Linked DNA regions of Homo sapiens: region 2 is linked to region 1. The links are contacts of gene promoters, found by promoter capture Hi-C in blood cells and fetal thymus (Javierre and others, 2016). All regions are on one chromosome and are shown on one strand. Each heading gives the region's core, a stretch centred on a gene start or on the middle of the fragment in contact. The rest is flanking DNA. Distances are from core to core; before and after follow the strand shown.

Region 1 (5,409 bases), core at 1,480-3,979:
TAATAATGTATTTTTCCATAGTGATATGAGAAAAATTAAGCACAGCAAGAAGATACAGGAGACAGATAATTGTGGTGGTGGTGGGGCAATGCTATTTTAAATTGATTGGTCCATGAAGTCCCATCTGAGAAGGTAACATTTTAGCAGACAGCCTGAATTATGTGAAGTATGCTATGTGAAGATCTGGGGAAAGAGTTTCCCAAGAAATAATAGCAAATGCAAAGTCTCTGAAGAGGAAATAGGCATTCCAGAGAGAAAACAGATAACCAAAAAGACCAGAGTAGCTACAGCATAATGAGCCAGGGCAGGAACAAATGGTGGGAAATACACCATAGAAAGGACTTGGGACTTTATTGTTAATGTAATGAGATGCATTTGGAGGGCTTTAAATCAGGTAGTGATATGGTCTGATTCAAACTTTATAAAGAATATTTTGACTGATGTTAAGAGAAACTTTTGAAGAAGGACAAGAGTGGAAGAAAATAAACGATGTAAGATGCTTTTGCAGTATTTCAAACTAGAAGTTACAGTGACTTTAGTGTAACGGTGATAGAGGAGGTACAGAGTATTCAGATTTGGGGCCTAATTTGAAGGTACAGTCTTCAAACATACTAGTGGCTTAGCTACAGAGTGAGAGGGGAAAAGAGGAAGGAAAAATTGGATTAATTTAATTGCCTCTATTTGTACTGTGATTTCATACAAGTCTTCTTGTGTCTTTGCATTATAAACCCTTCAAGGGTAGGGACTCTGATCCTTTTTCTCATATCACTTCAGTTTCAGGTAATTCATAAACGTAATTTATGAATACGTTAATCAATTATCAATAGGCTTTTTCTGAATCCTCCACTTTACCCATATAATTCCTTCTTTGAAAGTCTCATATTTCATCATTTTTAACACCCTAATCTAGGGGTGTGTCACCTAGAAGCTGGGTTAGCATTACAACTGTCTAACTGGTCTCTCTCACTCCAGCCTATCGCAATGTTACTGAAAATGCAAATTAATGACTTGAAAAATGTGCTTTCAGTCATTCATTCAATACGTACTTACTTATTTGTCTACTTTGTATTTAGAGGCTTTCTAGATTTGAGGGATATAATAATAAACAAAACAGACAAAAATCCCTGCCTTCATAGAGCTTACATTTGCAATAACTAAATATATAAAATACATTTAATAATAATAAATACTATGAAGAAAAATGAAACAGAAAAAAGGGTATAGAGAGTGTTAAGGATATCACAATTTTAAATAGGAAAACCTCTTTAAAGAGGTTGCATTTGAGCAAAGATTTCAATCAAGTGATGGAGTAAGTCATATAAAGATCAGACAGTACAACAGTACAGGGTCACTGCTGTGGACATGAGCTTGACTTGTTTGAGAAATAGAAGATTAATATATTTGTGAATTAGTGGCTGAGTGACAGGAGGTGAGGTCAGAAAGATGGCGGAGGCCAGATCATTTAGGGCTTTGAGGACATGGTAAGAAATCTGCATTTTATTGTATATGTGAAAGGAAACCATTGAACAATCTGAAGTTGAGCATAATCTGGCTTTTGTTTTAAAAAATCACCTAAACTCCTCTGTAGATAATTGACTATAGAGGATTGAGGTCACATGCTTTATGGCTTTTGGTGGCTTTTAATCAAATAAAAGTTATCTGCCTATTTTCAAAGGCTTTTATTATTAGCCAATTCCATCTACCACTAGTCCTCAGCATATGCCCTCTATTTGTCAAGCTGATTTCATCATGGGCTTCCTCACATCATATGAATTTATACGTCTCTACCTTTGCCTATCTTTCCCCTTTAAGACGGTGACTTCCATCTGCTCTTATCCACCATTCAAGAACCATCTCAAGTTTTAATTACATAAAATGCTTCCCTGACTTTTCACCTCACTGATGTCTCCAATAATTAAATAATGTAGCTCTTGTCTGTAGTTAATGACTGAGCACATGATCATGTACTTTATTTTATTGTTGTGAATATTTACTGTGTGCTAATCTTGTCTTCCAAACGATGTTGCAAGTTCTATGATAGCAGAGAATCAATGAATTCTATATCTCTCATGGCATCCAGCAAATCTGGGAAGTATATCAAGTGACTGTTAAATGATGTAACATGTGGCTTGACTTCTTTTCTGGAATGGTATAATGGTGATCACCCAAGAAGCTTCTGCCAGAATAGGAATTGAGGTTGGATGAATAAAAACCATAGTTTCTTTCCTCAGTCATCAGAGCCAACCAGTCACGTATAATAGTACACTTGCTTTTACTGTAAAATTCTAAAGGCTCGATGGACACCTTATTGATTTTAGTAAAACTGAATATTTACCTGTCAATCGAACACTGACCACAAAGGACTGTATTTCCTTATGCTATCATTTGATTTTGGCAGCATGTAACAATTTTGTTAAAACCCAATGTCAAGTTGGAAGGCCAGGCAGCACCTGCTCAAATGGCTGGCATGTAACTACTATAGTCACAGGGATGCTCGGTGTTCACAGCTATTCAGGAAGGTATAGAGAGCCCTGGCCGTAGATGTAGCTGATTTGTGTGAGGAAGAGGCAGTCCAGTTGCAGGCAGCCATCTCTCTTCCCCCCTCCCAACTCTTGGGTTCTGGGCTGAGGCCAGGGACTGTCCTGAGCTGATCGCAGGCTCCCATTGGCCGCTGTCTTTTGTGACGTCACGATCATGATGAGAATTGATGATCGGACACGCTGATTTCATTGTCTGAAGCGGCACTGGAGACCCAGGAAAAATCTCGCTGAATCCGCCTGCCCCAGCAGCGGCCTGATCTGGGTTCCGCTGATTCCTTTCGTAACCGCACCACACCCGAGGTAAGCACTCAACACTAAGTGGGTGAGAAGGGCGAAGGAGGGAGGGCAAAGCACCGGGATAATGCTTTTCCTAGTTTGGGGCGAGGTTGGGGGTGGGGGGGTCCATAGGTTCCGTGGCCTAAACAGGCAGACAAAAAACTGGTGCGGATCCTAGGGAGCCAAGTGCCTCTATCCTCCTAGCGAAGGCTGGCGGCTGAGTGAGATTAGAAACGAGCTGCGGATAGGGATACAATGGGGATTGCCAGAGAGCGAAGGACCTTGCTCGGAGAGAGAGCGATGTTTGGGACGCGCTTCTGGACGGGTAGTAGGAGGAAGTGGCGCCTCTGCCTCCGAAGAAAGGAGGGGATTGAATTCTACCACTTCTAGATTTCACTGGACAGTAGATTTCTCACAGCCCTACTCAAAGGCACTGAGAGCGTAGCGCCTGCGCATTAGCACCTTGGTGGGGGCGGGGTGGGTCACTGTGAGGAGAATAGGCGTGGAGTTTGCACAGGCGCTGTTTCGGTTTCACTGGAAGAGGTGGGGCTGAGCCATTTCTGTGCTGAATTTGGAAAGTAGAGACCCAGGGAACATCCCAGGCCTTGTGATGTTTCAAGCACCAGTTGATGGGGAGAGATCTGCCATTTAGTTTAAACTGGCCTACTGAGTAAATCCAGCTTCAAAATGAGCCTTATAAATTTGAGAAGGCACATTCTAAATTTCCAGATATTAGATGTTGAATAACGGAATGAACTCTAGAAGAATTTGTGAAATAGAAGTTTATCAGATAAGAAACTGTTTGGAAAAATAAACACTAATTATTCAAATGAATCTAACTTTTAATCTTAAAGGAGCTCTGATTTGAGGTGACAATGATTTTGAACCTTAAATTCTTTGGAAAGACTCAGAATGAAGTCCATTGTGGAGGCTCAGAGTAAGAAATTTTCCTTTCTTGCCTTTTTCTCTTCTTGGGACAATCTCTTATAAATATTTAGTCTCCATATCAAGTTTGGTGCTGAGTCCATCTTCTTCCTCTGTGTCTCTGCTAGAATCACTGAAGTCAAATATTATTTTGAGAAGCCCTTTCCCGCACCCCTTCATTGGGAAGGCTGTTATATTACTTATATTAAGGCTTTTATTACTCAGCAGTTGTGGGGAACAATGAAGAACAACCTGCCTGTCTATTATTGATGAATAGATTGTACAGTATTGTTATTAATTGCCCTCCACAGTCTGATCATAGACTCCTGACAATTTTACAGAGGAATCTGGATTTTTCTCTATTTCTCATAGTTAAGGGATTATCAAGTACTGGTAAATTTTCCTTTGAAAGCCTTCTCACACGTTCCTCCTTTACAATCTAAATTCTCATCAGCACCCATGTAGTCACTGTAGGAGCTTCCTAGGCAGTCTTCACCTGTGCCCCAAATCCTTAGTGGTCTGTGAACACTTCTTTCAACAAATCACTTTCTTTAACCAACATATTCTTGGCCCCTTATTTTCTATTGTTTCAAGCCTAATTCCACCCGAATTTTAAAGAACTTCATAATCTGGCCTCATTGTAATGCAGGAGCCTTATTTTCCTTTATTCTTCAGGGCACAACTCTCTTTAATGTTCAGTTAGTGAGAACAATCTACCTTTATATCTTTGCTCCTTATACCATTACTGTCCCCTCCACGTAGGATGTCCTCCTTCTACATAATTCACATCTTACCCACTTTGGAAACTCAACTCAAATTCCACCCCTCCACAAGTGCCTTCCAAATTAATCTAATGCAAGTGTTACTGACCTCACTTTTCCTAGAATTCCCACGTCAATTATTGTCTTTGTTAGTTGCTTGTAGGCTGCTTTGTATTGTCTCCTTTGTTATTGTTGTTGTTGTTGTTGTTGTGTGTGTGTGTGTGTGTGTGTGTGTTAGACTGGAATCCTCAAATGGATTTTAAACCCTTCCTTAAGGGTTGGGACCATGACATCCATTTCTTTATTATCTGCCCATAGCACCTAACTGAATAATCAAAATAGCTGTAGCTATATATGTTCTTTTTTTTTCCCCTAGAAAACAATTTCCTGGGAAATGAAGCAGTATTTTTATAGAGAGAACTGTATACATGTGAAAGCTTATTCATCGTTGGTCAGGCAAGAGACCCTCCAATGACTAAATAAACCTGAATTTAAGTCAGAGGAAAGAAATTACACAGATCTCTATTTACTGGGTGGCCTTCAAATATATCATGTCCTCATAAACAAGATCAAGGGAGGGAACACTATCCCAGAAGAGGTTCTGTCTGTAATCTTCTCAGTTTGAAAAATACTAAATAAAGAGGTATTCCACTGTTCTATACTTCTCTTTGGTGACATTGTATCATGTATCTTTAAAAATACACAAATTACTCACTTTTTATTACATTTTATCTACAATTGCTATCTTATATTGATTATTCCTGATAGTTTTCATGTGTACATCTCTTGAATCAGAGATGACCTTTGTGATGGTTGTTACAATTGCTATTATATATTGGTTGTCACTTTCCTATCCTTCAGGCTTCAAATTGCATTCTTCTGCAGAGCTCGTTTTACTTGAATGACAG
Region 2 (5,409 bases), core at 1,048-3,547, 540 kb before region 1:
ATAAACAGAAAAAATAAAAAAATACTTAGAATCAGTTAGCGGGTAGGGAAATGAGTCTACCCCAGACCATTAATGAAAATAAACTTTATCTAGTAATTAGAACAGTGCCTCACAAATATATAAGAGGAGCTTAGAAAATATTTTTGGTTGAATTTATGAATATTACCTTTATGCATGTTAGTTTGGCAATATTATCAATGTTTTATGCCTTTTGACCTACACTTCGGCTTATAGAAATTCATTCTAAGGAAATGGTTATAGATGTATATATAGATTCAATACAAAGTGGTTCAACAAGTACTGATTACAATAGCAATAGCTGGAAATAGTCTACATTTCCAAAAATTTATGAAAATTTTACATTTATTTGATGGTAGTACATTCATACAGCAGAATACTTATGACACCATTAAGAATTCTGGCCAATGTCATCTAACTAGTCAGTCGTGGAATCAGGATTCAAATTCAGGCCTGATTCAAAAACATATTATTAAGTGTGTGGATAAATCTTAAGGTTGACTTAAAGCGGGAAGAGATAAAAAGCACAATGATGAATAGAATTAGTAACCACAATTACAGCTCAACAGGCTGGCATGATAAGCCAGATCAACAAGGTAAAATTTAAACAGGTATAAACATACCTTCAACAGAGTCCAAAAAGTTCAAATGCCTAAGTACAGACTGGGATGAGGCATACCTTACCAGTAGTCCATGTAAAAAGGCTTAATGAATTTTAGAGAACCACATGCTTACTATGTCATGGTCAAAGGCTGCTTATGAGCATGGTTGATTTTGAGCACTCAAATATAAAAACTAATGTGATCTTAGGCAGCATTAATAGAAATATAACATCTAGAAGAGGAAAAGTCAGAGACTGACTCTATCCTGTAGCAGTCAAAACACCGTGGTTCATACATCCAAGTCATGGCACCAAAAACCAAAATGTTTTTTAAAAAGAAAAACAAACTACTTACACCTGAAGAAAACACTATCCTGAACATGCTTGGCAGAGGCTGATCATGATAGTGAGGAACTCAAAGCTGTGATGTATGAGAAATAGTTGAAGCTACTAAACGCTTTAAAATGTTTATCCTGGAAGCAAAATTACTTAAAGTATAACTGATATTTAAAGGCTTGTTTTTTGAAAGAGAGTTTTCTGTATGGCACCAATGCAAGAGATACAGTACCAACAGGTAGAAGTTATTATGAGACAAATTTCTGTCTGATATAAGAAAGGACCTTAAGTTAAATGAGAGGATTTAGAAAACGGAATGGGCTCCTTAGGCTCCTTTACCTAGAGTTTTATTCATGTAGAAGATATATGGCCACTAAATGTGCCTACTATAGAGGGAATTACAGTACCATACAGAAGGTTGATCTAGAAAACATCTAAGGTCACTTCCAAAACTGAGATCTTAATGAATTTGTTAAACTGAAGTTTCCTAATACTGAATGTACCTGTGTAAGTTTTTCAAGAAAGAAAAATCAGACTGCCTAGAACGTCTAACACCCTCCACTACTTATTGATTATTCATTAAGAAAAATCACTAGTTGTTTTTCACTGGAGTTAGAATTTTAGATGTTTGAGTTACATATTGTCTTTTGAGATACTTCATAACTATTTCTCTCAACTTTTAATATCTACCTAACAAAGACTTCTAAGACATTTTTGATGGGCAAAGATAATTTTAAAAAATATAGCTTTTGTGTCATCTTGATATTATACAAAGTTCATAAACCTTTGTAGGCAAATTACCTGCTCTGGTTTCACTAGCTGCTTTTTGGATTCCTCTTGTTTGGCTGCATGTACACTTACAGATGCATATATCAGACCTGCAGGCATGGTTGTCAGTTTTCCCATCTAAGAAAGATATATCAAAAACATCTTTTTAGTTGAAAAGCTTTCCATCTTCCATTTCCTAATAAATACTGGAGGAATCTCAGGAAATCTATTGGTTTCACTTTAATATATTAAATACTCAAACACTCCAAATTACCTCAGACATTTTTAAGACATAGTTCATAAAATTATCTTCTCATACTGGATGGCAGAGCACTATTTTTACCTGTTTGTTAACTACTTCATAAGAAATATAGCAATATAATATTTATCTGGAATATTATTATGTAATAATATAGCAATGTAATAATTACTAAAATCTGAGGAATGGAGTGGGATTGGTCTTGATATTCATTCAGTCCACAAACATCAATTGAACACCTACTATGTGCCAGACTCTGGTCTTAGTGCTTAGAATATATCAGTGAACAAAACAAAGATTCCTGTTCTCATACAAATGACATTCCAGTAGAGAGGAGGCAGGCAATAAACACAATAAACTATATGTTATATTATAAGTTGATAAATGCTCTGGAGAAAGTAAAGGATAAGAGTGGTCTGGAGTACTGAGTGATGCAGGCTGCATCTTGAAATACAATTTATATTAACATTATCCATAAAAAATGAATTCTTTCTATTATAAATCCTTTGCCCCTGATTTTCCCAATGCATTCCCTTTTACCTGTTTCTTGCTAAATCTAAAGCAAAAAGTGATCTTTGTTTTAGCTATAACTTGATTTGAATTAAGAATGAGGAAAAGTACTGGCTCTAAGAATAAAGTCTTCTAGTGTTATTCAGGTACCAAAATAATTCCCAAAGATTATCCATTCAACAAGGCCAACTGTAAAGCTTTCCAAGGTACAAATATTTTAACACTCTGATTCTTTAGATGGGAAAGAAGCTTCCTGAATTTGACAAAGGACATTATGAGGGAAGCAGTCTCCTTGTTTTACACACAAATAAAATTGTGCAACACCTGGAAGAATCACTGGCTAAAGGATTCTAAATGTTCTCCAATGACAGTGATAGTACCTATACTTCATTTCTGACACTGTTTTTAATATTTTCTGAGAAGAGCAAGGGAAGCTACTCAGGCATCAATCAGTTAAGTAATTTCCTGTTTAAACTGGGCAGGACTCTGATTTAGATTGGGGCTGTAAAAATACAGGGTAAAATTAAGAGTCAACACTAAGAAGATAAATTTTTTTTTATTCTCCTCCCCCATGCCTCCTTCTAGTACAGGAAACAGCATCACAGAATGATTTATCTGCACATGCATCCCTTAAAGACATCAATTTTTTTATTTCTTATACCCAGTTGGTATTCATTAATGAAATAACAAGATTTCCACACCATACCTATGTTAGGTATAATTTAAATGTATATTAAAACTGATGCCAGCAAGTATGGTCCCCATGAACCAGGGAAATTTTGTTAATAAAATCTCTATATTATAGGAAGGATGTAAAATTTTATAACATTGAAAAGCTTTTTTTGAAATACCTGACTAGACTTTACTTCTTCTTAAGAGACTACTCCCTGGATATAAGACAAATACTTTCAAAGTATGCTGAATTTTTTCAACACACTAATGATCACAGAGTATACTCATGTTACTTCATATAATGTAATAATAATATGTAGACTATAAAAGAATTTCATAGATATTGCTGATAATTATGATCTAATATTCCAGATTATGGATTTACTAATTGAGCTCATGGCCTAAAAGTTAATATACCTTGAAAATTGCCTAAGTACTTTCTCCACATTTTTTACTCTGTAAGGTAATAAAGGTCCACCCATTCTTTCCTACTGTCTTCATAGATTCCTTGACTTTTATTGAGGAGGCAGTATGGCACAATGGAAAAAAAATATGAGCTTAGGGCCGGGAGTGGTGGCTCATGCCTGTAATCCCAGCACTTTGGAAGGCCGAGGCGGGTGGATCACCTGAGGTCAGGAGTTCAAGACCAGCCTGACCAACATGGTGAAACCCTGTCTCTACTGAAAATACAAAATTAGCTGAGTGTGGTGGTGCATGCCTGTAATCCCAGCTACTTGAGAGGCTGAGGCAGGAGAATCACTTGAACCCAGGAGGTGGAGGTTGCAGCGAGCCGAAATAGCACCACTGCACTCCAGCCTGGGCAACAAGAGCAAAACTCTGTCTCAACAAAAAAATACATATATATATATATACACACACACACACACATAAATATGAGCTTAGGAGTTACACGGAACTTACTGTCTAAACTTGAATCAATTATTGAAGCTCTTCAAGTTGTGCTGCCCAGTATGGTTACTACTAGCCACATGTGGTTATTTAAATTGAAATTAAAATTATTAATAAATAAAAACTTCAGTCACATTAGTTCCATTTCAAGTGCTCAACAGCCATAATGTAGAGCACAGATATAAAACAAGCCCATCATTGCAGAAAATTCTAGAAAATGTCTTAATTAGGTTAACTATTATTAGGTTAAATATCTGAAAAAATGTGTATGCCATCCTGTTGATTATCACAAGGATTAAATAAGGAGTTATATTAAAATGGCTTACACTTGGTACATAGGCAATTAAGTTTAGTTTCCCATTCCTTCTGTTTGCTGAATAAAAAAATTAAGTGGCTCTGCTTATTCCTCATTTTTCTTTGCACATGTATTTCATGCTAATCAGGCTCTAGTGAGAACAGTGATAACAATAAAATCTATCCAACATATTTATTACCTCCAAACAAAAAAAGGTTGCAATTTTTGTCAAAAGAAATCAGGAAGACTGGCACACTAGGGTATCTACAAGTCTAAGTTATACTGGTGAAGTACATGTCACTATCTTAAAGAGGGAAAGCTAATGGTACAGCACATTGAAAATTTCTGAAAAAAGACTGGCAAGCTACAACTCTGGGCTAAATCTGGCCTGGACTCTAAGTTTAAAATGTTTTTAAAAAACATATTTAAAGATTTGTAAAAACAAAGAAGAATATATGACAAGAAATCTTATGCATGCTGCAAAGCCTAAAACATTTACCATGTGGCCATTTACAAAAAAAAAAAAAATTGCCAGCCTCCAATTTAGAAAACCAAATAAGATATTCAAAAAGTTATTAGAGTTTGGGGTGTTATAAAAAACTTACAGCCTCATGAGGCTGTCATTAATCAAACAGCATTAAAAGTGAGCAGAGATAATCGAGTTTTCACGAGAGGAAAGACCTTAACTTAAAACTATTTGTAACTCGAAATAATAACTCGTCAAGTCAAAATTACGACTTATTTAAAATCAATGAGAGATTAAATACTGGCTCTCTACAAAATATAACAGGTCCTAAAACAGATATCTCTCACATGGAAATTTACAAACAGCAGGGCTAAAATATGAGCATGAGGTAACTTACCCGTAAGACTCACCCCCTCCAACTGTGCCTGCAATAAAAATATAGCTGATTCTTGTTATTTCCAGCAGTTATATTCTATAAAGTAGCTGTGAATACTGATTTACAGAATACTGTACCATTTCTCCAGGGAAAAATACAGGGCGAGCTTCCTGTGATAGCAAGTTTTTTGAAGGTTTTT

The links. The method cuts DNA at HindIII sites, captures the fragments that hold promoters and counts their contacts. A CHiCAGO score of 5 or more calls a contact.
Region 2: a contact is called between a fragment that was not itself captured here and the fragment with the promoter of HDX in region 1, in 1 of 17 cell types (erythroblasts). The highest score is 7.2, in erythroblasts.

What each region holds. Positions count from the first base shown.
Region 1 is chrX:84,499,773-84,505,181 of GRCh38, reverse strand. It overlaps HDX (highly divergent homeobox), which reads left to right and starts at 2,729. Exons shown (of 11, transcript NM_001177479.2): 1 at 2,729-2,840. RefSeq lists a silencer at 2,556-2,705. The HindIII fragment of the contact is 2,765 bases long and covers 2,176-4,940 here.
Region 2 is chrX:85,042,898-85,048,306 of GRCh38, reverse strand. APOOL (apolipoprotein O like) reads right to left here. Exons shown (of 9, transcript NM_198450.6): 2 at 1,757-1,861. Among named protein-coding and RNA genes, the nearest start is that of APOOL, 42 kb to the right of the region's middle. The HindIII fragment of the contact is 788 bases long and covers 1,904-2,691 here.